Regions from separate parts of the Homo sapiens genome. Here all the other regions are linked to region 2. The links are contacts of gene promoters, found by promoter capture Hi-C in blood cells and fetal thymus (Javierre and others, 2016). All regions are on one chromosome and are shown on one strand. Each heading gives the region's core, a stretch centred on a gene start or on the middle of the fragment in contact. The rest is flanking DNA. Distances are from core to core; before and after follow the strand shown. Region 1 holds the start of UBQLN2 (ubiquilin 2). Region 2 holds the start of RRAGB (Ras related GTP binding B). Region 3 overlaps KLF8 (KLF transcription factor 8). Region 4 has its middle 28 kb from the start of VCF2. Region 5 overlaps VCF2 (VCP nuclear cofactor family member 2). Region 6 overlaps KLF8 (KLF transcription factor 8).

Region 1 (3,681 bases), core at 1,182-3,681, 850 kb after region 2:
TGAATGTATAAATTTGACTCTGAGTTCATCCACATAGTACTTAATAAATGAAATAATATTAAACTGGACCTTGATACAAATGCAGCTTCCAGTGCACCACTTATTTCAGTAGGTTTGGCGTGGGGCCTAGAAACATGCATTCTTAACAATGTTCTCAGATCACACGTAGAAAAATCCTAGCATTAGTATTGCTGTATATGCTCTCATTATCATTATTTTTGTAAATTTATTCTAATAAGAACATTGCACTTTGCCCCAAAAGTATTCAGTTATGTTTTAATAATCAAATGGTTGGTTTTTTGTTCATACTTTGATTATTAATATCTAGCTTTATTCTATGGAAATTAAAGATTACCTATAATATTTTCATATTCTCACCACCCATAATTAACTATTGCTGATATTTTATCATATTTGCTTTCATTTTAAAGATAAAAAGCATTTTTACATATTTAAGTTCCCTTTACTCACTATCCTGTATCCTATTCCATTTCCTCTTCCTCATGGGTGCAAGTTTGGTATATTTCTAAAAGAATATTTCAAATATACATAAGAATGTATTAGAGTGCTGTTTGGCATGTATTAGGTTGGTGCAAAAGTAATTGCGGTTTTTGCTATTACTTTCAATGGCAAAAACCATTGTATAATAGTAACAATTCGTTACTTTCAATGGCAAAAACCGCAATTACTTTTGCATCAACCTAATACTAATTAATTTGGCTTTTTAGATCTATACATATTAACATATTTAAAGCTAGTCATCTTTTTACCTCTGTATTTTATTAATTATATTAATAAAATAGAGAGGTAAAATAATATTAATTCTTCCATTTCTCCATCGATGGATATAACATACCTGTATATATATATTTTTCTTATCTTCAGATTTATTAAAGTATTTGTGACCTAATGACTTTGAAATGCTGTTAAATGTTGAAAGCAGTGGTGCTTTGGTGGATGCTTGGTAGAGGGTGGGGGTTGGGGAAGAATTTTCTGTGTGGTTTAACCTAGAGTTAGAAATATATAGATAAATTTGAAATTATTTCTTCTATTTTTCAAGTTCTCTTTCTCAGCATTGCTACATCTTTATTGCTCTTACTTAATCTGTAATTAAATTAGGTAAATATGTCAATGTTTGCCACTACTATTATGTGCCTGTCAATTTCTACCCATACTCTTCCCCAAAATACCTTTCTGTAGTGCATACTTACAAAAATCATCAGAAAATTCAAAATCTTATGAAAATAGAAAATAAGAATTATTCATAATTTCAGCAAACAGTACTAACAGCCATTAACTTATTTGTGCATAGCCTTCCAGATTTTTTTACACATACGGTTTACATATACAACAAACTGTTCAAAAATTGCTTTTAAAATAAAAATATATTTATTGTATTTTTGATATTGGAACATATATTCTTATATAGTTTGTAACTGTACAGAAATATACAAAGGCATAATTGAAAATACTCTGTGATTTCCCTATAACTACAGTTTATTTCATGTATACCTTTAAAGACACTCTATATTTTCTTGTATGGTAATATGATAATGTGCTCAACTAATCTCATGTAAACAGATAGTTAATATATTTAAATAACATTTTAAAATGCTACAATGTATATACATTTTATACATAAATATTTTTGCATCCTCATCCGATTATTAGGCGAAGTGTCTAGGTTAGGCATTTCTAAATAAAGGTGGAAACATTCAAAATGCTGATATATATTTTCAAATTGCCCTATGGTTGTAACAATTCACACTTCAGCTAGCCTGAGAGGGCATTTTTTAGGGTCCCTGTCAACAAGAAGGTTTACCATTATTTTTTTCCCTGCCAATATGATAAGCCAAAAGTAGAATTTTATTGTTTTAACTTGATTTCTTTTTATTAGTAGTGAAATTAATCATCCTTTTTTAATGTCTATTGGCCATTTGCACTCCTTTTGTAAAATGCACGCTCCTGCTCTGTCTTCTTCCCTTCCCCTACTGGAGGTGTTCCTCTTTTCTTTTTGCTTTGTCAGAGTTCTTTATTATTCATTTTTCGTCTTATACGTGGGATCTGTTCGATTCAGGCTTTCACCCTTTTACTGCCTTACAGATTGCTAATATACATTCTCCATTGGTCTTTTAATGTCGTTTACAGAAGCTGACTCTCTACCGCCTCCTTCTCTCCGTCTCACCCTCTCTGCCTCGCCTGCTCTGTACTGTTCTGTTCTCTTCTCTCTCTCCCTTTGTTTCTCTCTCTCCCTTTTTTCTTTTCAGTGCAGAAGTTTTTAATTTTGACCGAGCCAAATCTATCAATCTAGGCCTGGCGCCGCGTCAGCAGAGGGGGCGGGGAGGCGAGCGCGGAACTGGGGGAGGGGAAGGGGCGGGGATCAGCAGGCGGAGCGGCTGCCAGAGTTGCTGGGAGTGCGCGCGGTCGGATCACAAGGCGGCGGCGGAGGAGGCCCAGAGACCGGAGCGCGGAGACCTCAGCCAGCGGCCTACGCCCAGGCCTTTCTCCACCGGAGGACCAGGGAACCGCAGTCTTCATCACAGAGGTACCGTGCTCCGCGCTCCCCGCCTGACCCGGCCCAGCCCGCTGCGGCGGTGCCTCCTTCCTTCCTCCTTCCCTCGCGCTCTCTCTTTCGCCCGCCCGCGCCTTCCCTGCCCGCCTGCGTCACCGCGGCCGCCATGGCTGAGAATGGCGAGAGCAGCGGCCCCCCGCGCCCCTCCCGCGGCCCTGCTGCGGCCCAAGGCTCGGCTGCTGCCCCGGCTGAGCCTAAAATCATCAAAGTCACGGTGAAGACTCCCAAAGAGAAAGAGGAGTTCGCGGTGCCCGAGAACAGCTCGGTTCAGCAGTTTAAGGAAGCGATTTCGAAACGCTTCAAATCCCAAACCGATCAGCTAGTGCTGATTTTTGCCGGAAAAATCTTAAAAGATCAAGATACCTTGATCCAGCATGGCATCCATGATGGGCTGACTGTTCACCTTGTCATCAAAAGCCAGAACCGACCTCAGGGCCAGTCCACGCAGCCTAGCAATGCCGCGGGAACTAACACTACCTCGGCGTCGACTCCCAGGAGTAACTCCACACCTATTTCCACAAATAGCAACCCGTTTGGGTTGGGGAGCCTGGGAGGACTTGCAGGCCTTAGCAGCCTGGGCTTGAGCTCGACCAACTTCTCTGAGCTCCAGAGCCAGATGCAGCAGCAGCTTATGGCCAGCCCTGAGATGATGATCCAAATAATGGAAAATCCCTTTGTTCAGAGCATGCTTTCGAATCCCGATCTGATGAGGCAGCTCATTATGGCTAATCCACAGATGCAGCAATTGATTCAGAGAAACCCAGAAATCAGTCACCTGCTCAACAACCCAGACATAATGAGGCAGACACTCGAAATTGCCAGGAATCCAGCCATGATGCAAGAGATGATGAGAAATCAAGACCTGGCTCTTAGCAATCTAGAAAGCATCCCAGGTGGCTATAATGCTTTACGGCGCATGTACACTGACATTCAAGAGCCGATGCTGAATGCCGCACAAGAGCAGTTTGGGGGTAATCCATTTGCCTCCGTGGGGAGTAGTTCCTCCTCTGGGGAAGGTACGCAGCCTTCCCGCACAGAAAATCGCGATCCACTACCCAATCCATGGGCACCACCGCCAGCTACCCAGAGTTCTGCAACTACCAGCACGA
Region 2 (4,251 bases), core at 1,016-3,515:
GTTGGAAGGAGACAAAAGATTAGCTAGTGATAGAGCGAAGGATCACTAATCAGAGTAGAATAACTTTTTTCTTGAGGCAAGGCAGTTGTGGAGAAAAGGAATCACACAGGACCTCAAGTGGAAAGTGTGGGAGCAGACAGTGTAACTGCCCAACGGGTTCACCTTGCCTGCTGCCTAGACAGAGCTGATTTATCAAGACAGGGGAATTGCAATGGAGAAAGAGTAATTCATGCAGAGCCAGCTGTGGGTGAGACTGCAGTTTTATTACTCAAATCAGTTTCGGGGGATTGAAATTTTTAACAATAATTTGGTGGGTAGGGGCTTGGGAAGTGGGGAGTGTTGACTGGTCAAGTTGGATATGGAATCATAGGGGGCTCTAAGTGAGTTTTTCTTGCTATCTTCTGTTCCTGGGTGGGATCGCAGAACTGGCTGGGCCAGATTACTGGTCTGGGTGCTGTAAGTGAAACGAGGGAAGTTCCCCTATCCCCCTTGCAGGGCATGCCACAGCGGGAGTGGCTCACTGCTTCACAACCTCTAGGGGGAGCATGCAGAGGGGCAGGCTGTGGGGCTCCGACCCCATGGCAACCTCTAGGGGTGAATATAACATTTGGGTGGGAAGGCAGGAGTGCCTATCCTCACCTAGGTCCATGGGCACAGGCCCCAGGGTGGAGCCCTAGCCACGGACCCGCCTTTCTCTGCCCAGCACTTTCCTGCCCCGCTCCTGTATCATAAGCTGGTGCATCTGAATGCAGGGTCTGCAAAACATATCAAACAGTGATCTTAGGTTTTAAAACAGTGATGTTATTCCTGGGAGCAATTTGGGGAGGTTCAGACTCTTGCAGCTGGAGGCTGCATGGCCCCTGAATTGTAATTTCTAATCTTGTAATCTTGTGGCTAATTTGTTAGTCCTGCAAAGGCCGACTGGTTCCCAGGTAAGAAGGTTTTTTTGTTTTTTTGTTTTTTTTTAGTGGGGGGCAGCGGGAGGGAGAAAGGGCTATTATCAATTTTGTATCAGAGTTAAACTATAAACTAAATTCCTTCCCAAGGTTAGTTCGGCCTACGCCCAGGAATGAACAAGGACACCTTAAAGGTTAGATGTAAGATGGAGTCGGTGAGGTCTGATCTCTTTCACTGTCATAATTTCCTCAGTTACAGTTTTTGCAAAGGCAGTTTCAATAATAGTACTCTGTTTCCTGCAGTTTCTCTTCCTTCCTTCCCTTTTTTTCTTATCAAAGTAATATATGTACACACTTACGTGTAAATAATACATGTAGTATATCATATATTAATTATAAATAATATAATTAAACTACACATTTATTTAAAATAACATATTTATAACATATTATTTAAGTATTAGTTGATTATATTAAATATAATTAAATGTCATATTAATCTTATTATTATATATCATTTATACATTATAGAAATATATATAGCACAGAAGGGCTTCAGATAAAAAATAATAGTCCCCTGACATATCACGTCCTATCCCCTACCCCATTCTCCAGAAGGAACATCTTTGAACCCCTCTGGGCATTTTTCCTGGTGTGCATATCCCTACCAGTAGTCTTTCTGTTCTCAATTCTAGACTTCACTTATTTACAGATGGGGTCTCGCTATGTTGGCCAGGTTGGTCTTGAACTCCTGGCCTCAAGTGATCCTCCCTCCCCAGCCTCCCAAAGTGCTGGGATTAAAGGCATGACCCACCACTCCCAGCCCTAGACTTTATTTATTGACTTCTTACTATGGTACTTCCTTCACTTCCTGTTTTAAACAAGTGGGAAGATGAATGTGTGTGTTAAAATTCCTGATGAATCCCTGGTTTCAGCAATAACGATAATTTATACAGTATTTGCTATGTGGAAGACACAGTTCTAAGCGCTTTGGATGTATTAATCATTTAATTACAAACTCGATTGCAAGAATTAACAATAAAAAGCAGGAAGGCAAAGACAATGCTCGGTCTTCCCAGTCAAAAACCATTACCGGTAACCAGCAGTAAAAAAGAGAAGCTCAGAGGCACTGAAATTGCAACCGGCTCCTTTAATTCTCCATAGCGGATGGGTGGGGCCAGGCCCACCCACATTAGAGAGGCTGAAGGCTCCCAGCGCCCTACCCCGCCCGAGGGGCGGAGCCTGAGCCAAGGCCACGTGATGATGACAGACGGCACTCTGGCTTTCCTGGAGCTGTCTCTATGGTATTCTTCCCAGCCCACCCGTCCCTTTGGTAGCGGCAGTCACGTGACAGACTCCGGGGTAAGGCAGATGCCCACGTGATCCTGGCCTGCAGTTGGGTGGCTGCGGTGAGATACCTGGGTTCCTGAAGGGCGGGTGGTTAGGTCGTAACTACTGCCCCCGCCGGCTGACTCTCCGAGCGGCCGGGCTCGGAAGCCACGAGCCAGCTGAGGCGTTCTCCGCTTAGTGCCTACGGCATGGGTCAGCTCTTTCTGCCACCTCCGCCTTCGCGGTCCTCACCTCTTTGCGGGTGAAGTTACCTTTGGGTTTCCAGACCTTGGGGGCCTGAGGCCCAAACTCGGGACGAACCCCTAACCCACCTCTCTTTTCCTGTCATTCTCCAACTCTTACTTTGTACCACGGAATCACTTGGCCTTAAAGCTAGCCAGCTCGGCCGTGCCTTGAGGCCAGGTTCGAGAGATAAAGGTAACCGTGGGGAAAGCGGCCCCCCAGTGGACAAAGGCGGAGGCAAGAATAGAGCAGGCCTGAGGGCCATAGGCGATGAGAATAGGCAGTTGAGGGGTGAAAAAGAAAACAAACAAACAACAACAACAAACCCTGAAGAGTACTGAAGATTTAGAAGGGACTGGAAAGGACTTGTTGCGCAATGGAAGAATCTGACTCTGAGAAAACGACGGAGAAAGAAAATCTGGGGCCGAGAATGGATCCACCACTAGGGGAACCGGAAGGATCGCTTGGGTGGGTGAAGGGTATTTGTGAAACCTGGAAGTGGGGGTGTTCAAATTGAAGAGAGTATTGTGAATTAGAACACTTCTCCCCACCCCGCACCATGATAAATTGCTTTGATTTACCAGTAATGTTGATTGGGATTATGCTTTGGACGACAGGATAAACTGGAAAGCGAATTGGTGCTAACTGATCAGAAACAACCCTTGGGAAGGGGCTGATATTCCTGGTGGTGGTGCTGGGGGAGTGTTCTAATTAAAGCAGTTATGAGTTGCTTTGAATTATCAGTAAAGGAGATTTGCTGTCACCAGGTTGGGGATGGAAAGACTAGAAAGAAGATTTGCATTTCCAGGTCAGAGCTTGAGGGTGTTTTCTGTGCCAATTTGTACCTGAATTTGAGACTTACATCTACTTTGTGTCTGTGATGAGTGAAATAGGGCTTGGAAGGACAGCTGAAGGACTAAAAAGATACTTCCAGATTTTAAAATTAGGAGGCTGAATGTTTTTTATACATAGAAGATATTCAATACTCAGTCCTCAAGTAGAGGATATCAATATATTCTGTTTTTTTAGAAATAGAAGATATTGTTTGATTAAAGCAGCTGTGTTGCTTTGATTAAGATGATGAAAAATTGAATCTTGAATTTTAATGGCTCATTTGTATTCCTAAATAAATCTTCCTAGGAGTTCTCTCTTGAACTTCTAATTAGGAGATAGAGAGTATACACACAGTTTTATAATTTAGGAAAATGGGACCTCTATTCATCTGAGGTCCCACACACACAGCTGTACTCAGCCGTTGTACTAAACATGCTCTTTTGTACCTCCATGTTTATTTATACTTCATTAATTTCAATTTCTAAGGGAATTGGATCATGGAAACTGTTTTTTGGTTTATATCTGCAGGTGGGTGCTACCAAATACAGCCATGAAGAAAAAGGTAAGACGTGTTAGATACGTCAAAACCATGAAGGTAAAGGTAAGAAGTTGATATTCAGGAACTTTGTGACATATATACACCATCTTTTCTGGACTATTGCAGGAGCCTTCTGTGTGGTCTGTCTGACTCTCTTCTCCTTGTATGCTATCAGATTTAATTTTTCTAATATGAAAATCCGACTGAGTCATCTACATACTTAAGAACCTTTAGTAACTTCTTTAAGCCCATGGAATAAAATCCAAATGATTTCATGGCCCTTTAAAATCTGTTCCTGACCAAACCCTGTGCCACACTTATGCACCCTATCACAGCCCTACAGAATTTATTGTTCTCCAGATTTACAAATTAATTTGCACTTTGTGTAAGCCATATACACACACCATACAG
Region 3 (4,306 bases), core at 84-2,583, 520 kb after region 2:
TGGGTGTCTACAAAGTTGGAAGCATCATGCTAGAAGCTGAGGTGATAGTGGTAAACTTACCACTTTAGGTTAGGTAAACTATCAGTTTAGGTGGGACCCTTGCCTTCATGGAGTATGCAGTTTACTTTTCCTCTCGTCTGGATTTCCTTTCTGTTTCTTCTTGACTGTCGTAGTTCTTCAAAGCCCACCTCAAAGCAAACCATTTATTTGAAATTTTCTCTGACTATTCCATTCTCAGTAATCTCCTCCTCTCCCAATTATTGCTCATAGCCTCAAATCATAATCCAGCAATGCAGCATCTATTATCTTGTAATATTTGATTGCTATTATTTTATGCATAATTGTTTCTCATCACACGGACCTGGGATCTCAAACTTAAATCTCCAGGGCCCAGTAAAATGAGAAAAGCATGCCCTGTCTAAAGGGGACAGCTGTTGATCATCTCCAGCTAATTTTTCCCTTGTGCCAATGTACACTCTGTATTATAAAATCTCTCAGCTTTTTTAGAAAAGCAAGAAATAGGATTTTTTTCTTAAAACATGAAATCTGCATTTGAAAGGTTGTTAGATGTTTCTGTTTTAATCTTTAACATCACTATGAGAACCAGGCCAACATCTGCAGTGGGCTGCCAGTTTTCTCTATCTGACCTAGACTGCAAATTTACTGAGGATAGAGGCCAGAGACCATGAAGTTTTCTTCCTTCTGGTATTACCTCCTCCCTCCTTCCCACATAATATCTACTACAGTGTTGACTATTTAGTAGGGTCTTGGTAAAGACTTGATTATCATCAGAAAGTTCCCCTTTAAGTTAACCATGATGTCCTGTAAATGACATAGTAGTTCTACTTTCTCCAAATACCTAAATGTGCCTTTGAAGACAATTATCAGGCCAGCTTTCTTTTTCCCTGTCCCCCTTTTTGCCAGATGTAATCATCTACATTTCTTGATCTAGCTCCATTTTGTTTTCTTTTAAAAAAATTGGTTATTTCTCTAGTTTCTTTCATTTTTTTCTGCATTTCTCTTCTATTTGCCATTTTTCTTGAAATATTGTACATCACAAATAAAGTACAGTATCTTCAGAAAGGTCTACATGATGCTGAGCATATATTTAAGTTTGATTATTTGGAGCTAATTATTCCATCTCTTGTTTCTTCCTATACGTTCAATGATGCGGTTGTTTCATCTTCAGTTAGAATGGGCGGGGATGTGATGTGAATATATTTATTTCTTGTTTGTTAAACTAGTTCTGATAAATATACATAACAGTTGGTGCTAAAAGAATAATAACATACTTATTCCTTAATTTTGTAGCTAGATCCTAGAATAGATGTGTAGCGTTGAATTGGCTACTGCATTAACCTCACTTTCTGGAGCTCTACAAACTGAAATGGTCCAAGACTCTTCTAGGATGCCTTGTCTTGGTGCTCCTGAGCCACTGCTCAGGCAGTGAGTAGAAAAGTTATTCAAGAGCCAAGGTCTCTTCCCTTAAGTACCTGTTGCACAAAACATGGATGAGGACCAATTGTATTGTTACAAATTATTTGTGGTTGCCACACTACCACCATGTTTAATTTATTGGAGGAGATTGTTGCATGAAATAAAGGTATGAAGTAATGAAGAGGATCACATGAGATGTTACATAATGATTCAGAGCAATGAGTTTTTGCTGCTGTGGCTCTTTGTCCCTTAGTGCCATGCTGGAGTTGTAATTCCTAGAGGTTTTGTTTTATAATTAACATAATAATTAGTGGGAATCTTTTAATACTCTGTACATATATTCAATATTAGAGTTTGCTGCAAAGATATAAAAACACCTTCATTATTATTATTTTCAACTCTAACAAACTATTTCAAAGTACAGGGTAGTAGCAAGTACTTTAAGGAAAAAAAAAGAGCTTTGGTATCAAACATCATACCTGGATTCCAATCCCAGCTCAATAATTTACCAGTTTATGTGACCTTGGGATTATTTAATCCCATTGACTCTATTTCTTCATGTGTATAGTGGGATCAACAGTAATACCTACCTCACAGGGCAATTGTGAAAATTAAATATGTCCCATTAGAAATGCCATGAAGTGTGGCACACGTTTACCTATGTAACAAACCTGCACGTCCTGCACATGTACCTCAAACTTTAAAATTAAAAAAAGAAATGCCATGAAATGATATATCTGGGATTTGCATAAAAATATACATTGAGGTAGGGGGAGTGGGTTGAGGTACAGATGAAACAAGGTTTACCATTAGCTGAAAATCATTGAATCTGAGAGTAGGCGCATGGGGTTTTTGTCTACTTTTGTATGCATTTAAAATCACCCATAATTTTTTTTTGAGATGGAGCCTCGCTCTTTCATGCAGAGTGGAGTGCAATGGCATGATCTCAGTTCACTGCAACTTCCACCTCCTGAGTTAAAGTGACTCGTGCCTCAGCCTACCAAGTGGCTGGGACTACAGGCATGTGCCACCACACCTGGCTAATTTTTGTATTTTTTAGTAGAGATGGCATTTCACCATGTTGGTCAGGCTGGTCTCAAACTCCTGACTTCAAGTGATCCACCCGCCTTGGCCTCCCAAAGTGCTAGGACTACAGGCATGAGCCACCGCACCCAGTCATTCATAGTAATTTTTTAAATGCCATTGGAATGAGACTCAAGTTTACCTGATGGTTTGTAGAAAACTTAATCCTTCTTGACATCAATCTCACAGGTTAAGCAGAAACCTGAGATGATTATTATGGATTTTCCATCTATGTCCTTGTAATAAAATCATATATCATAGAATGTTATAAACTGGAAGGGATCTGAAAAGGACTAAGTAGTTTACTCAAAATGACACTGCTAGACAACAGTGAAGCCTGATCTAGAATACAAGTCTCCCAGATCCTAGTTAAATGATTTTCCCATTGTTTCACATGGCCTTCTTTAATAGTAAGAGTTTTATCTGCTTATTGCATATAAGATTAATTATTGTCTAAACATAAATATATTTGTTCAATGGAGATTCAAGGCAAGGGGACTGGTTCTAGGCATCTGAGATTATGTTTCTATAATACCTTTAAATCTGTTTTGTCAATTGATTCTTACAAGTATCTTGTGAGGTGAATGAGGAGTTATTTCCACTTTCTACATAAAGTGACGAGACTTGCTCAAGGTCACACAACAATTTACTGATTAAACTAGAACTAAAATGCAGGCCTGGAGTTTATTGAGCTTCATCTCCACTTGTATTTCCAGTTTTAGACTTTTATCATAATTCCTCTTAGCTTTCATCTTTTTCCAGAATGAGGAATCTTAATCTCTAGCACATTCCAAGGTAATTTTTCATTCTGGCGTATTTATTTTCTTTTTGTGGAAAAGAAAATGTAGCTTAACATCAGCGTCTGAGAGAAGCGCAACTGGCTGAAAGCACTGGAGGCTATGCAGGTGATATTGTAGAACATGAACTCATAGGAGAATGGAGATAAAGATATCAAAAATCATACATAAGTTTGTTACTGGAAATGGTTTACATCTTAAGTATGTGACCGTATTTATGTACTTTTAAAATTTTTCTGACAGAAGTAATCCTAAAAACTTATATGGCTATTTTATCTTTACATCTTATAAGATATTTTTACATGTGTTATCATGATTGGTCTTCCTAACAGCCATGAGTGGGGAGGGCTACACTGGTGTATTCCCATTTTTCAAAGGAGAAAACAGACATAGAAAGGTCAAATGACTTGCCCAAAGTTATAAATCCCTTTTCTGGTATTTCTTATCACCTTATATTTTCAATACCTTATATGACTTCACTACTTCAAGTTTAGCTGGCTGTTGTAGTAATCATGTAATACTAGATTTCAGTCTTTCTGTCACTGTCGTTCATACATGTTATGTGCTGCCAGCCTTCATTTATTTTTGTGGCAATATGTTTTCTCCTCTTAAATTCTGTTCTTTTTAACATCCTAGTTTGCCCCCACTTCCTTTTCTCTCATTCCAGGTAAGCTAAGCAGGAAAACTACAGGGGTTTTCTGGTTTGTTTGTTTTTTCTTTCTGCTGGAAAGATACACGTAAATTTAGAATTAGTCAGCTGGACTCAGTTTAGATGATCCCAATTTTGTTGGCAACATCCAAAGCATTGTAATCAGGAGCCAGTCGAACGTATGCCTTCTTCTCTCCATCAGGTCAAATCAGGGTGTTGATTTGCCACATCAGTATCATAGAGCTTCTTCACAGCCTGTTTGATCTGGTGCTTGTTGGCTTTAACATCCACAATGAACACAAGTGTGCTGTTGTCTCCTATCTTCTTCATGGCCGACACA
Region 4 (3,814 bases), core at 49-2,548, 580 kb before region 2:
TACTTATCAATATACACTCTCAGAAATGGCCCCTAGATTCCTGCATAATGATCAGAACTGTCTCTCTCTCTCTCTCTCATTAATGCTGCCTCTTTCTCTCACACACACACGCGCACACACACGCACTCACACACACACGCACACTCACACACACATACACAATGTAGTAATGGGCTTGTCAGGCCCTTTCTCTGGTTGGTTTCCCCAATATTTTTGTCCCTTCAGTCCCTGAGATTGGTTCCATTATTCAGCACAGGTGTTCAGGAGACAGAGACATGTGGTAGCCATGTTTTCAAACATGTCCAACATAGGTGAATGAATATACTTTAGGCTTCCAATATGGTATGTTCTCATATGCCAAGGATAGATGGAAATGAGGCCACTCTCCAGGGGACAGAACAAGTCTAGTGCGAGCTTTCTGCATAAGGACCTTGCAGCCGTTCTGGGACACTGTTAAGCATAGAGATGGCCAACAGGATAATCTTCTCACAACACCACAGCTTGGTGTTTCCTGCTCTTTTGACAGACTTTCAGATGGAAACCAAATAACTTGATTGGAAAAATCTATTTCAAGAAAGAAGAGCCACCTCATATGGGCATTTTCTCCCATATAGGAAGAGCTGCCTTGGGACAAGGATGAAGAACTAGAAATTATCCCAGCAACCACACATCCTGCTAGTGACCCTATGGGTCAGAGCATCTTGCAAGAACCTACATGGAGGACTCCAGTGGGAGATTCTAGTGGTCTTACTTGGCTCCCACACAAAGAAGTATCTTGGTTGGGACTCCTATGCCTATCACAGATGGAGAGAGTCCAAGGCATGGGTTGCATTTTTATATATTTAGAACATTAGCCACATGCCCAAGATTTCCACAGAGTGGAAATTGACCATCTGTCTTTTCAGAAGGGAAACACAGACCAAGACAGTTTTGTGCCCAGTAATACTGGAACCTCAGGCTCCTTTGTATCAGACCCACAGGCTCTGCTTGTGAGCAACAGCTTTATTACAGGTCTTCTTGATCCTCATGCCCCAGTGGGCACCCAGCACAATCTTTATGAGAGAGAAATGGAGAGCTTCATTTTTACCATGGCATACATGACCTCGCAAATTAAGTATACTTGGTTTTGTTTTTAGCAAAATGAAGTCCCATGGGTCTCTAACATGGTCCAGACAAATCAGAAGGCAGGTAATTGGTAACATGACCTCGCAAATTAAGTATACTTGGTTTTGATTTTAGCAAAATGAAGTCCCATGGGTCTCTAACATGGTCCAGACAAATCAGAAGGCAGGTAATTGGGTGTTGAATAAATACTTACAGACAAATCATATGAAGGAATGGATGGAGACACGGTTTTACAACAGAGAGGGAGGTTTAACCAAGATATGAAGATTTGACATAAAAAAAACTGTACAACTTCAAACAAGGGTTTAGATGTTGTACTTCCTGTTCCAGGATGCATGTGAGTTGAGAAGCATCACTTAAGTGGATATATAGTACTTAAATCATTTGGGGATTTTGTAGTGTTTGGTATTGGCAGTGGGGAGAACTCCATGCTCCAGCATCCAGAAAGATGCATGAAAACATGGTTGTATATGACAGCTTTTCTTGACGAGGTAGGTCGTGGTGAAAACATGTCACAGAATCTCCAAAGTAGGTGACTGGGCTCAGAAGAGACAACAGAGGACCAGTTTTGAAATTAGGAGGAAGGTCCCTTCAGGGGATCCCTTGCCCTGCCTCACAGGATGATATTGGAGCTTTTAATAGGGTGTGCACTTTGGTTTAGTTCATGGCCTATAGACACTCTCCAAACATTTCTTGGATAGGTATGTGGATGGAATCATAGTTTCATGCATCCATAGACAGAGAGATGGACAGACAAATGAATGGATGGATTGAGGCAAGATTATGCAGTGTCAGTGGTGTCACATTTATGGTATAAAAGTCTTTGTGCAATTTGCAAAATAAAGGGAAGCCTGATATCTTTCAGTTCATGTTTTGATGTAAGTGTTTCTGGAAGAAAGAGGGTAATGGGAAATACAGCTGAAGGGGTTCACTGGGGCCAGGAAAGCCTTGACCACCAAGTAAGATATAAAGTAGTGGGGCCCTTTTAGAACTGACCAAAAATATGACCCAAAAGGCATCTGCATCAGGTTAATCTGGCAGCAAAGAAAGGAAAGACAAGAGGAGACAGAGAAAGAAAACCACCCCTAGAATATTATTGGATTAATCTAAACGTGAGATGATTGTGATCTAAATTTGAGACCTGGAAGTAGTAACTGAAAAATTATAGGGAAGAGACATCCAAGGAACAATTGGAAGGTCAAGGAGGGCCTAGAATATCTAGGGACATGGTAGTGGGATGCATTGAGATATGAAGGAATGTAAGCACATTTTGGGTAGTCTTGATGAATTTTGATTTAGTTATACTGATAATGAGTTGACAGAGAAACTTACTGGAGCAAATGTTCAGCATGGAGAAGGGAATGCATATCTGGAATTTAAGGCAGTGGTGAGGACAACAATAGACATCTAGTAGTCATGTGCTTAGAAGTAATGTTTGAGGAAAGAGAATCCTGAGGCAGAGAGGATAGACTAAAATGAGTAGAGGCTTAAGTACTGAATTCAAGAAATATTTGATAGGGTGTGTGTCTTAGTTTGGCTGCCTGCTATAACAAAGTACCATAGGCTGGTGGCTTATAAACAATAGAAACATATTTCTCACAGTTCTGGAGGCTGTAAGTCTGAGATCAGGGTTCTATGAGGCCCCCCTTAGACTTGCAGACTGCTGGCTTCTTGCTGTACTCCTAGGTGGTGGATAGCTCTCTGACTTCTTATAAGGGCTTTAATTTTGTTCATGAGGGCTCTACTCTCATGACCTAAGCACTTCCTAAAGGCCCCACCTCCTAATACCATCACATTGGGATCAGAGTTTCAATACATGAATTTTGAGGGGACACAAACATTCAGCCCATTGCAGTGGGGGTGTGGCAAAGAGGAACAGCTTGGAAAGAATTCCATTGTGCACTCAAAGAGACAAGAGAAAAAGTAGTAAGGCAGAAGATCAGAGAAGGGAAGGGAAGGAGAAAGCTTCCAGGAGTGGTGGTGAATAGGGCTCCATGCTGTTGAGAACTGAAAGAAAAAAAACTGAGAAAAGGCATCTACCATATTTGTTAACTAGCATGTGAGATGACAAAATTAAGCTTGCTTCTCCATGGGAGTGAAGGAAGGTGCTATCAAGCTGTAGAAAATAAATAGTGGAATTTTATAGCACTGCTGGTCAGCTCTCATTCAATCATACTGACCTTCCACACTGAGAATTAGGAAACTTAATGCAAAGTCATCACACAAAAATAGCTCCAAATTGCTCGCCAAAGATGCAGAGAAATGGCATTGCTTTTCTTTCTTCTGACATCATTCTTTGCCCTTCCATACAGCCATGAAACAAGTTCCATAGCATAGCTGGGCCACCAGATCAAGTTACAATCAGGAATTCTTGAAAACAATCTGAAACTGGATGGTTTCTTCTCATTATCTCCATACCTGTTGTGCTGCCAACTTTCACAGCCTGCTCTTTCTATGTTCTAGTTCATTATGATCCTTTCCTTTCCACTCGCATTCCATATGCTCATCCAGCAGGTGGCAGGAGCCATCCACTTTCAGGAGTGGGTGTAGCTTAAAGATTTCTGATGACAGTCACTCTTTAGCACAATAGTTCTGTGGTATGTGTCTTTTCTGACATACCAAGGTCTTTCTCCCATGACCTTCATCATACCCTACCCTACCATTGTCATCCAGCACATCCTTTTATTGG
Region 5 (3,803 bases), core at 31-2,530, 560 kb before region 2:
AATATAGGTTTAATGCTTGATATCTGTGCAAGGCAAATGAAGAATAGAGCCCTTGCAAATTCACACACATAGCAAAATAAAATTATATTTATGAAGACTCTAAAGAAGGGGATCTCATTATGCAAAATTCACAAAGGCACTTTACAAAACTCCTGGGGTCCAGGTCTGTGTGAAAAAGCAGGATTTAGGTTAGTTTGGGCCATAAAGAAATCTGCATACTTACCTGTAACCAAAGAAACTTTGAGGCCAGCAGGGATTTGCTATAATACATTCTGTTTCAGAATAGGCATCAAAATCACCGTGTGGTTTTCTAACACTTTGACTCGTGTGCATATGCTGGGGCCCAACCTCTGAGAGGCTGTCAAGTAGGCACAGATTGTTCTGATGCCCAAGCAGTATCTAAACAAATATTCGCATGTCTATTATACAATGTATAAGAAGGCACTTTGCCTGGGCTACTTAGGGATTCAACAGGTAATTCTTGAGCCTAATCAAGAAGCATACAGTACTCTGAGAATGACAGCATCAAGCTATTGCAATGACAAGAATGTAGCAATGAATGCTGACTGGGGAAATAGAGGAGGCTTCTTAAAATGAAATGCATCTGAGCTAGGCCTTCAAAGATACAGAGAATATTAATAGGAAGGGTGTGACAAATGGAGAGAGCAATAAGAGCACAAGCAAGCTGAAGAAGAGTTCTTGAGGAGACAAAGCCACAGATGATGTGGCTGGTATCTCCCAGAGAAGAGTTAGTGAGAGCTAAAATATGCAAGAGAAGATACGGCTAGGTTATCAGGGGCCTTGAATGTTACTCTAAGAAGTCTGTACAAACAGGTATTTGAGCATAAGATAAATGCTCAGATGTATATTTAGGAAGAGCATTTTAATGGATGAATGAAATAGGGGGTGGATGAGACCACAAAAATCACTGGGAAATTTTGCAATGTATCAAGCAAGAGGCAATGCAAGCCTGAATTAGGATGGTGGAAATGTAAAGAAAGGGATATATTTGATACACGCAGAGGTAGAATAGAAAGGAATCATTGAGGAAATGACAGAGACACTAAGTTGATGCCAGGCACCCAGGACAATGATTGGCAAATGGTAGGTGCTCAGTAAATATTTGGTAATGCAATTTAGGAAGTCTCAGATGTTTCCTGACATGTTACAGCAAAGGAATAGGGAGGGGATGGAGGAGCTAAGGTTTACTGAGCACGAATGGAGGTGAGAAACAAAAGGGAGTGAATGCAGATTACAGTTTGGATTTAAAAGAGAGGGAAAAGACACAGTACTTGAGAGAAAAATAAACTAGACACAAGATTAGTTAGGGAGTGAAAAGAGAACCTTAGCAGGCTAATGAAGGATAAATAGAACTGAGGAGATGAGGAGGAATATTAGTTACAGAATATCTTCACAAAAACAGAGCAGAAATTCATGCATGTATTCATGATATAAAATTATATAACACTTTTTAATGATAAAAGCAGATGAACCCAGTATTTTACTTTCTTCTTCTTCTTTTTTTTTTTTTTTTTTTTGAGAGGAAGTCGCACTCTGTCACCCAGGCTAGAGTGCTAGAGTGCAGTGGCACGATCTTGGCTCACTGAAACCTCCGCCTCCCGGGTTCAAGCGATTCTCCTGCCTCAGCCTCCCGAGTAGCTGGGACTACAGGTGCGCGCCACCAAGCCTGGCTAATTTTTGTATTTCTTTAGTAGAGGTGGGGTTTCACCATATTGGCCAGGCTAGTCTTGAACTCCTGACCTCATGATCCACCCGCCTTGGCCTCCCAAAGTGCTGGGATTACAGGCGTGAGCCACTGCGCCTGGCCCAGTATTTTACTTTCTTTCAAGCCCTAGCTTTCCTCTCAATTCCATCCCTCCATGCCTTACAGCTTTTCCTTTATGTGAACCTCCACAACAAAACATTCACTCCTAATACATAGTCTATCCCTGGAATAATAATATGATGCTTATTCAAAGGCACCTGTAGAAACTTGAGTAAGTAAAACAGATGATCCTAACCAAATCCATCAGAGGGCACTTAAAATATGTGCTCCCAAAGTTCCAAGGCATTTAAAATGACGTGTACACATTCTCTAATACTAGAAACATTGTGGAATCTTATGAATTGTAAAATACAAAATTAATTAGGTTGTTGAATTACAACCACTTTCCAAATTAGCAAGGTAATGATATTCATGTGTTAACTTCTCTGTGCTGATGGGGTAAATAATCAATGCTTTTTGTAGCTTAGTTTCCCTCCTAAGATGAAGTTAGAACAGACACTGAGTTGTAAGTTATTTTCCAGCTCAAAAATTAAATTTATAATAGAATCTATACAACTATTTAAAAATCTATACAACTCACCTTGTTTCAATTCAGTAAATGGGATTTGAACAAACAAAAATGAAAAAAAAAAGACTGATAGGTAATCCTCACCTGCAGAAAAACATGTGGACATATTCAATTCATTAAAACAACTGAGATTGTAAGATTCAATTGCAATATGAAAGTGCTTGGGATGTTTAGTATGCTCCATGAACACGGCTTCTTAAAATGTACAAAATAGATTAGGCCATCTTTGAAAAAGCTTGTTCCTCCATTTTGAATGTATCTTTAAGTAGAAGCTAATTTCAGAAGGTTCCCATTTTGCCATAGGGTTTAAAACCACATCTGATGACCATTACATTGTTCAACAACGATTTCATCCCCAAAAATGTTTCCCAAAGTAGTTCTGTCTCTTAGAATTTATGTGATCAAACGTGATGAGAATGACTCCAAACTACTAAGAACCTAAGAGAAAATGTTCTTCAAAAAATTTCACCAAAGCCGGGGCGTGGTGGCTGATGCCTGTAATCCCAGCACTTTGGGAGGCCGAGGCGGGCGGATCACTTGAGGCCAGGAGTTCGAGAACAGCCCGGCCAACATGGAAAAACCCCACCTCTACTAAAAATACGAAAACTAGCCGGCCATGGTGGTGCATGCCTGTAATCCCAGCTATTCCGGAGGCTGAAGCACCAGAATCGCTTGAACCCGGGAGGTGGGGGTGCAGTGAGCCGAGATCGTGCCACTGCACCTCCAGCCTGGGTGACCCAGTGAGACTGTCTCAAAAAAACAAAAATGCCCCAGTTGTCATCTGAATTGATATTACTTAAAATGATAACCTGACAAGGGGAGATTTCCTATCAGCTGAAAAATAACAGGATTCATAGACCTCTAATTTTAAATGTATTTGGGGCCTCCTAGTTCTGTTTTTCTCTCATTTGTCTTATTTCTGCTGCCCCCTTGGAATTGTAGCATTAGGGCACAAAATCTTTTCCTACTCTATACAGTAGGGAAGAGAAAAAGGCAGAGATCTGCTCCAGATAAGCCACTTGTGTGTATATCTACATAATATTCCACTCTTAATTTCTTGTACTACTCAGTAATCTGAAAGGTAAAATGAATGTTCCTGGCAAGTTAGACACACTTGTACAGAAATGTTCGGCTCTTTGTGTTTGTACTTTCTGTAAGTCTTATACCTATGTACTAGGGTTTTTACAGGGAAAGTGGTGGTATAATTTGTAAGATGTATGGTTGAAAGAAAATATTCCTATATGTGCAAACATATCCAACAAAAATCCCCCAGCACCTAAGAGAACAAATTATATAAGTTAAATCTAGTTATGTTTTACCCATCCAAGTAGCTGCCCACAATCTTGGATAATCATACCTGTGTATAGGTAGGTACCAAGAAGAGGACCTGGATTGATAATCTTTTCTCATCTTGCTCAAAAGAGGGCAAGGTGAGCCATACTTAGTTAT
Region 6 (4,276 bases), core at 25-2,524, 540 kb after region 2:
TATATTTTCCAATGTACAGTACAATAGAGTAAGCATAAATATTAAAATAAAATAACTTCATCCATGTATTACCCAAAAACAACCTTAGATTCTTTGAGAAACAAAAACTGATTTAGTATTTTTCACATTTTCTATAGTTTTGTGCTAGGTACTAAGCAAATACCTAGTGAACAAATATATGCATACATATACATATGTACATACATTTGTACATTTATGATCTCATTTTGCCTGATTGTGGCTACTACCATCCCAATCTCTTAAAATTGCCGGGTTTGTTAGATTAAGTCTAGGTTTCTAATAATACCCATCTCCATCCACCGCTCCATTTTCTAATACCCAAACAGATAATGCTCTTATTGGAAAAAGAATTGAGTTTTAGAAGGTTAAACAGACTTTTTGACCTAAACATGAATGTGTACAATACATGTGTGCATATGTATCCAGGCATAAAACTAATTGGTTTAACCCAGAGCAAAGCTGGAAGGTACCTGTTTACAAAAACAGGTTTCCTCTTTCTGTTTGGGAGGAGCCTAGGCTTTATCGTGTTTCTATAACATCCCTTCCTCTCCTTCCACCTACTGTGCTGTATATAGTATTTTGTTCTTCATTTCTAATCTTGCATTACCACTTTCAAGCTCCACATCAGAGCTGTTTCAAATACATGAAAAATGGAAACTTTGTAACAGTTGATTCCACTGATTCTCAGGGCCTCTCTACCTATCTTAATCAAATGCTTAAATATTTGTGAAATTAACCAACTTTTCTCAGAGTTTATTTCTAGAATTGAGAGGGGTGTTTCCTAAGAACCGAAAGGGTCTCATCTTTAGTAATATATGAATAAATAACTCTTTTTATATTTTTTTGTCCACTCAAATTGGCTTAAGGAAACCTGATAAGGATTCTGGGTATTTGAGGAGTAGCACTGTGGAAATTAAAGCTTGTCTTCAAACCACCCCTAAGTTTCTTTGTTTTCTTTCATGCACAACCTTCTTCATAGATTCAGAAATCCGGAAATTCAGGATAAAGTCTTAAAATAGCAAATGGGGAAAGTAGCTATTCTCTTTGATAGTGATTGACTAGAGAACACTTAAAAACTGAAGCCATCACACCACACTAAAAATGAAGAAAGATTACTTTAAAAGAAAAATCTGATGACAGAACAATCCTCAGATGAGTTTCAAAGCTGAAGTGATTATATTCAATGAAGCATGAAATAGGTAGCCATCCTGAGTCATCTTAGTGAGGATTCTTAAAATCACCAAAATTCTAGGGACAAAAACTCACTCAATCAAGACTTGAAGGTCTTCTTCAGAACCTTCAAGCATAATATGCTATCTATAAAGATAAGGTAAAGCAAATAGGGTGTTGGGGTTTTTTTTAACCATAGGGAGGGTTATATTCAAACTATGGAATAAGTTAGACTGTATAACAATATTTTTATTAAAATTATTTTGATCATATTGAAAAAAGAATCCTCAGTGCACACAAACAAAACTTATTCACCCTGATAGTGTGTAGATATGGAATGCTTGTCTTTAAGCCACAAAGGAAGGAACAGTAAGGTCAACCTTGAGACCTACTTTTGAGAACAGTCTGTTTTCTTAAGAAAGCTTGCATTCAGAAGACAATATTTACACCCAGAAAATACTTGCTACAAGATAGATTCACTTAGACATAAGAGGCATACTTGGGAGTGATATGTACAGAAAAAAGTATGTGACACTATGCTTTGAGGAAGTTACTATTAAGATACTAAAACCCAAACAACTCCCCTTCCAACACTTCTCTCAAAGCCTTTTGATGGCAGGAGAGAAGTAATGATTGAAGCCCTGCTGCAGACAGGGTTTGGTTAAGAATTGGCAAACCACAAAATAGGTTTAGTCTATGAAAGGACAACTAATGATGGCCTGTTGGAGCAGGACCCTGTAACACTGTATCTCATCAAGGCAATAAGAATAGGCTATCAGTTCTTCAGTTTCTTGACTTTCATCAATCAGTTTCCATTTTAGATGTTCCTACGTAATGTTTTTCAATAAAATGCATACCTGCAGATCAAGTATCAGCTAAACACAAGGCCTTGAGCTAGTAACATTGTTGTAGGCAGCACTCATCTCACTGAAATGGCCTTTCTTTGGCAAAAGAGAGTAAAAGTTGCCAAAGTCGTGTTTATTTTATAGTTAGGATTCAAAGCTTCAGCTTTTTCAGGTTTCTTAGTCCAAAAAGTCCCTAAAATTTAGCTAAATCTTTTCTTAATTTCAGTGGCAAGTTGTGTTTATTTATACACCTGCACCCACAACTATATTCTTACAGAAAATGATATTACAGTGAATTATTATTATTATTATTATTATTTTTGTGTGACAGAGTCTCATTCTGTTGCCCAGGCTGGAGGGCAGTGACAATCCTCCTGCCTCAACCTCCAGAGTAACTGGGACTACAGGTGCATGCTACCATACCTGGCTAATTTTTGCATTTTTAGTAGAGATGGGGTTTTACCATGTTGGCCAGGCTGGTCTCGAACTCCTGACCTCAAGTGATCCACCTGCCTTGGCCTCCCAAAGTGCTGGGATTACAGGCATGAGCCACCGCGCCCGCCCTACACTGAACCTCTTCTTATGCTTTCTATTGTAACTCTATTTCTCACTGTTATTGACAGCAATGATAGACTATGGAAAGAGATAACATTTTTTCTTTTGAAGATTCCTTGGATTCTATCTTTTTAATCTGGGAATGGAGCTACTCAAGTGAAGAGTTATGTGGGAAATGTAGGAAAAATAAGAGCTTAAGTTGATTTGGGGGATTCTGAGAACAGGGGAGTTTTATGTTCAGCAGAGCCAATCTTGACAACTTCCTCTCCCTGTCAACAGGATTCTACTCCCCCCTTATCTGGATGGGTCAAATCCACCCATGAGGGATGGGTTACATTTGCAGTATGTGAAACAGTGGGACAAATCACAGAAATCATGTCCTGGAGGAGCAGATTGAAGCAATGTTTGGACCACAAACAAGGGCTGAGTTGGGATAGGTGCTGGCAAATCAAGAAACCAAGAGTGTTGTAGCATAAAAGAAGGGAAAAGAAGATGGCAGTCTGGCCAAATTCTGGAGACAAAGCACGGATGGGTTTTTGGTGCCGTTACTCATTCCCAGCCTGCTCTGAGCATTGTTGTCATGTGTTTTTGACGCAGAGTCTTGCTCTGTCACCCAGACTGGAGTGCAGTGGTGTGATTATAGATCACTGCAGCGCTCTGAGGGTTTTTAAAATAAAGTCAGAGCAAGAAGACACTGCCTCCCCTGCCACTTATTGCTCTCTGAATTCAGACCCTTATTATCTCTCACCTAAATTTTAAAAAATCATAAGCATAACATAATTATCACACCTTAAAATTAACTAATTCATTAATATTGTCCAATATCCAGTCAATACTCAAATATTTTTACATGTCTCATCGAGATTTTTCCACTTGCTTTCTTTTGAATGTCTTTGAATCTAGTTTTATTCCTCTTTCAATCAATCTTCATTAAGAAGCTAGTTAAATCTCACAGAAATAGTTCTTCCCTTGTTACTCCTCTCTTCCAAACAATTATCTTCTATCACCCAACCTTTCATTGAACTCTACCTTTCCTCATCTTCCAAATATACAAAACTAAAAGTGGTTATGTTTTATATAAAGGATGTATTCCTTAACATTTTTCATAATTTAAAACTCCCATAATTCAAGTATCATGCTGATAGATAATGGAAGCTTGTTTGTTTACTGGCTAAAGAGGTGGTACCACCATCTCCAAAATCATCTTCAAGATCCAGAGTGTTGCTTGGCAGTGGCATACACAGTTCATTATATCCTTGACCTTTGAATTCATGGAATTCTTAGAAAGTTTTTAATTAGGTTGAGGCTTTATTTCATATATTACATATAAATGATCATTTATTAGTTTTTTAAAAAAAGTATTAGTTTTTTATTAAAAACTATTAGTTTTTTAAACTAATAAATGTATTTATTAGTTTTTTAAACTAATGTATTTATTGGTTTTTTAAACTAATAAATGTATTTATTGGTTTTTTAAACTAATAAATGTATTTATTGGTTTTTTAAACTAATAAATTGGTTTTTTAAACTAATAAATTTATTTATTAGTTTAAATCATTTATGATCATTTAGATCATTTATTAGTTTTTTTTAAAAATCCCAGAATTAAAAAGTTGCAGAGTTCAATTTTGCATATAATACAACTAACTGTATTGCAAGTTTATTTCATAGTTTATTCTATAATT

What was found. Contacts are between HindIII fragments. The CHiCAGO score rates a contact against its expected background, and 5 or more counts as called.
Region 1: a contact is called between the fragment with the promoter of UBQLN2 here and the fragment with the promoter of RRAGB in region 2, in 3 of 17 cell types (fetal thymus, neutrophils and monocytes). The highest score is 8.7, in fetal thymus.
Region 3: a fragment that was not itself captured here is called in contact with the fragment with the promoter of RRAGB in region 2 in 1 of 17 cell types (total B cells); the score reaches 6.2 in total B cells.
Region 4: a contact is called between a fragment that was not itself captured here and the fragment with the promoter of RRAGB in region 2, in 2 of 17 cell types (megakaryocytes and non-activated CD4 T cells). The highest score is 6.8, in megakaryocytes.
Region 5: a contact is called between a fragment that was not itself captured here and the fragment with the promoter of RRAGB in region 2, in 1 of 17 cell types (monocytes). The highest score is 7.6, in monocytes.
Region 6: a contact is called between a fragment that was not itself captured here and the fragment with the promoter of RRAGB in region 2, in 1 of 17 cell types (naive B cells). The highest score is 7.7, in naive B cells.

The regions. Positions count from the first base shown.
Region 1 is chrX:56,561,196-56,564,876 of GRCh38, forward strand. It overlaps UBQLN2 (ubiquilin 2), which reads left to right and starts at 2,432. Exons shown (of 1, transcript NM_013444.4): 1 at 2,432-3,681. The coding sequence starts at 2,679. RefSeq lists enhancers at 2,135-2,762, 3,159-3,358, 3,369-3,428. The HindIII fragment of the contact is 11,191 bases long and covers 1-3,681 here.
Region 2 is chrX:55,715,484-55,719,734 of GRCh38, forward strand. It overlaps RRAGB (Ras related GTP binding B), which reads left to right and starts at 2,266. Exons shown (of 10, transcript NM_006064.5): 1 at 2,266-2,936; 2 at 3,831-3,864. The coding sequence starts at 2,845. RefSeq lists enhancers at 2,395-2,594, 2,755-2,884. The HindIII fragment of the contact is 6,209 bases long and covers 1-4,251 here.
Region 3 is chrX:56,238,852-56,243,157 of GRCh38, forward strand. All of the region lies in intron 1 of KLF8 (KLF transcription factor 8), which reads left to right. It also overlaps the pseudogene RPL23AP83. Among named protein-coding and RNA genes, the nearest start is that of KLF8, 8.6 kb to the left of the region's middle. The HindIII fragment of the contact is 6,018 bases long and covers 1-4,306 here.
Region 4 is chrX:55,131,728-55,135,541 of GRCh38, forward strand. No RefSeq gene overlaps it. Among named protein-coding and RNA genes, the nearest start is that of VCF2, 28 kb to the right of the region's middle. The HindIII fragment of the contact is 3,579 bases long and covers 1-3,088 here.
Region 5 is chrX:55,154,424-55,158,226 of GRCh38, forward strand. All of the region lies in intron 2 of VCF2 (VCP nuclear cofactor family member 2), which reads right to left. Among named protein-coding and RNA genes, the nearest start is that of VCF2, 4.9 kb to the right of the region's middle. The HindIII fragment of the contact is 2,614 bases long and covers 1-2,587 here.
Region 6 is chrX:56,260,323-56,264,598 of GRCh38, forward strand. All of the region lies in intron 2 of KLF8 (KLF transcription factor 8), which reads left to right. Among named protein-coding and RNA genes, the nearest start is that of KLF8, 30 kb to the left of the region's middle. The HindIII fragment of the contact is 673 bases long and covers 939-1,611 here.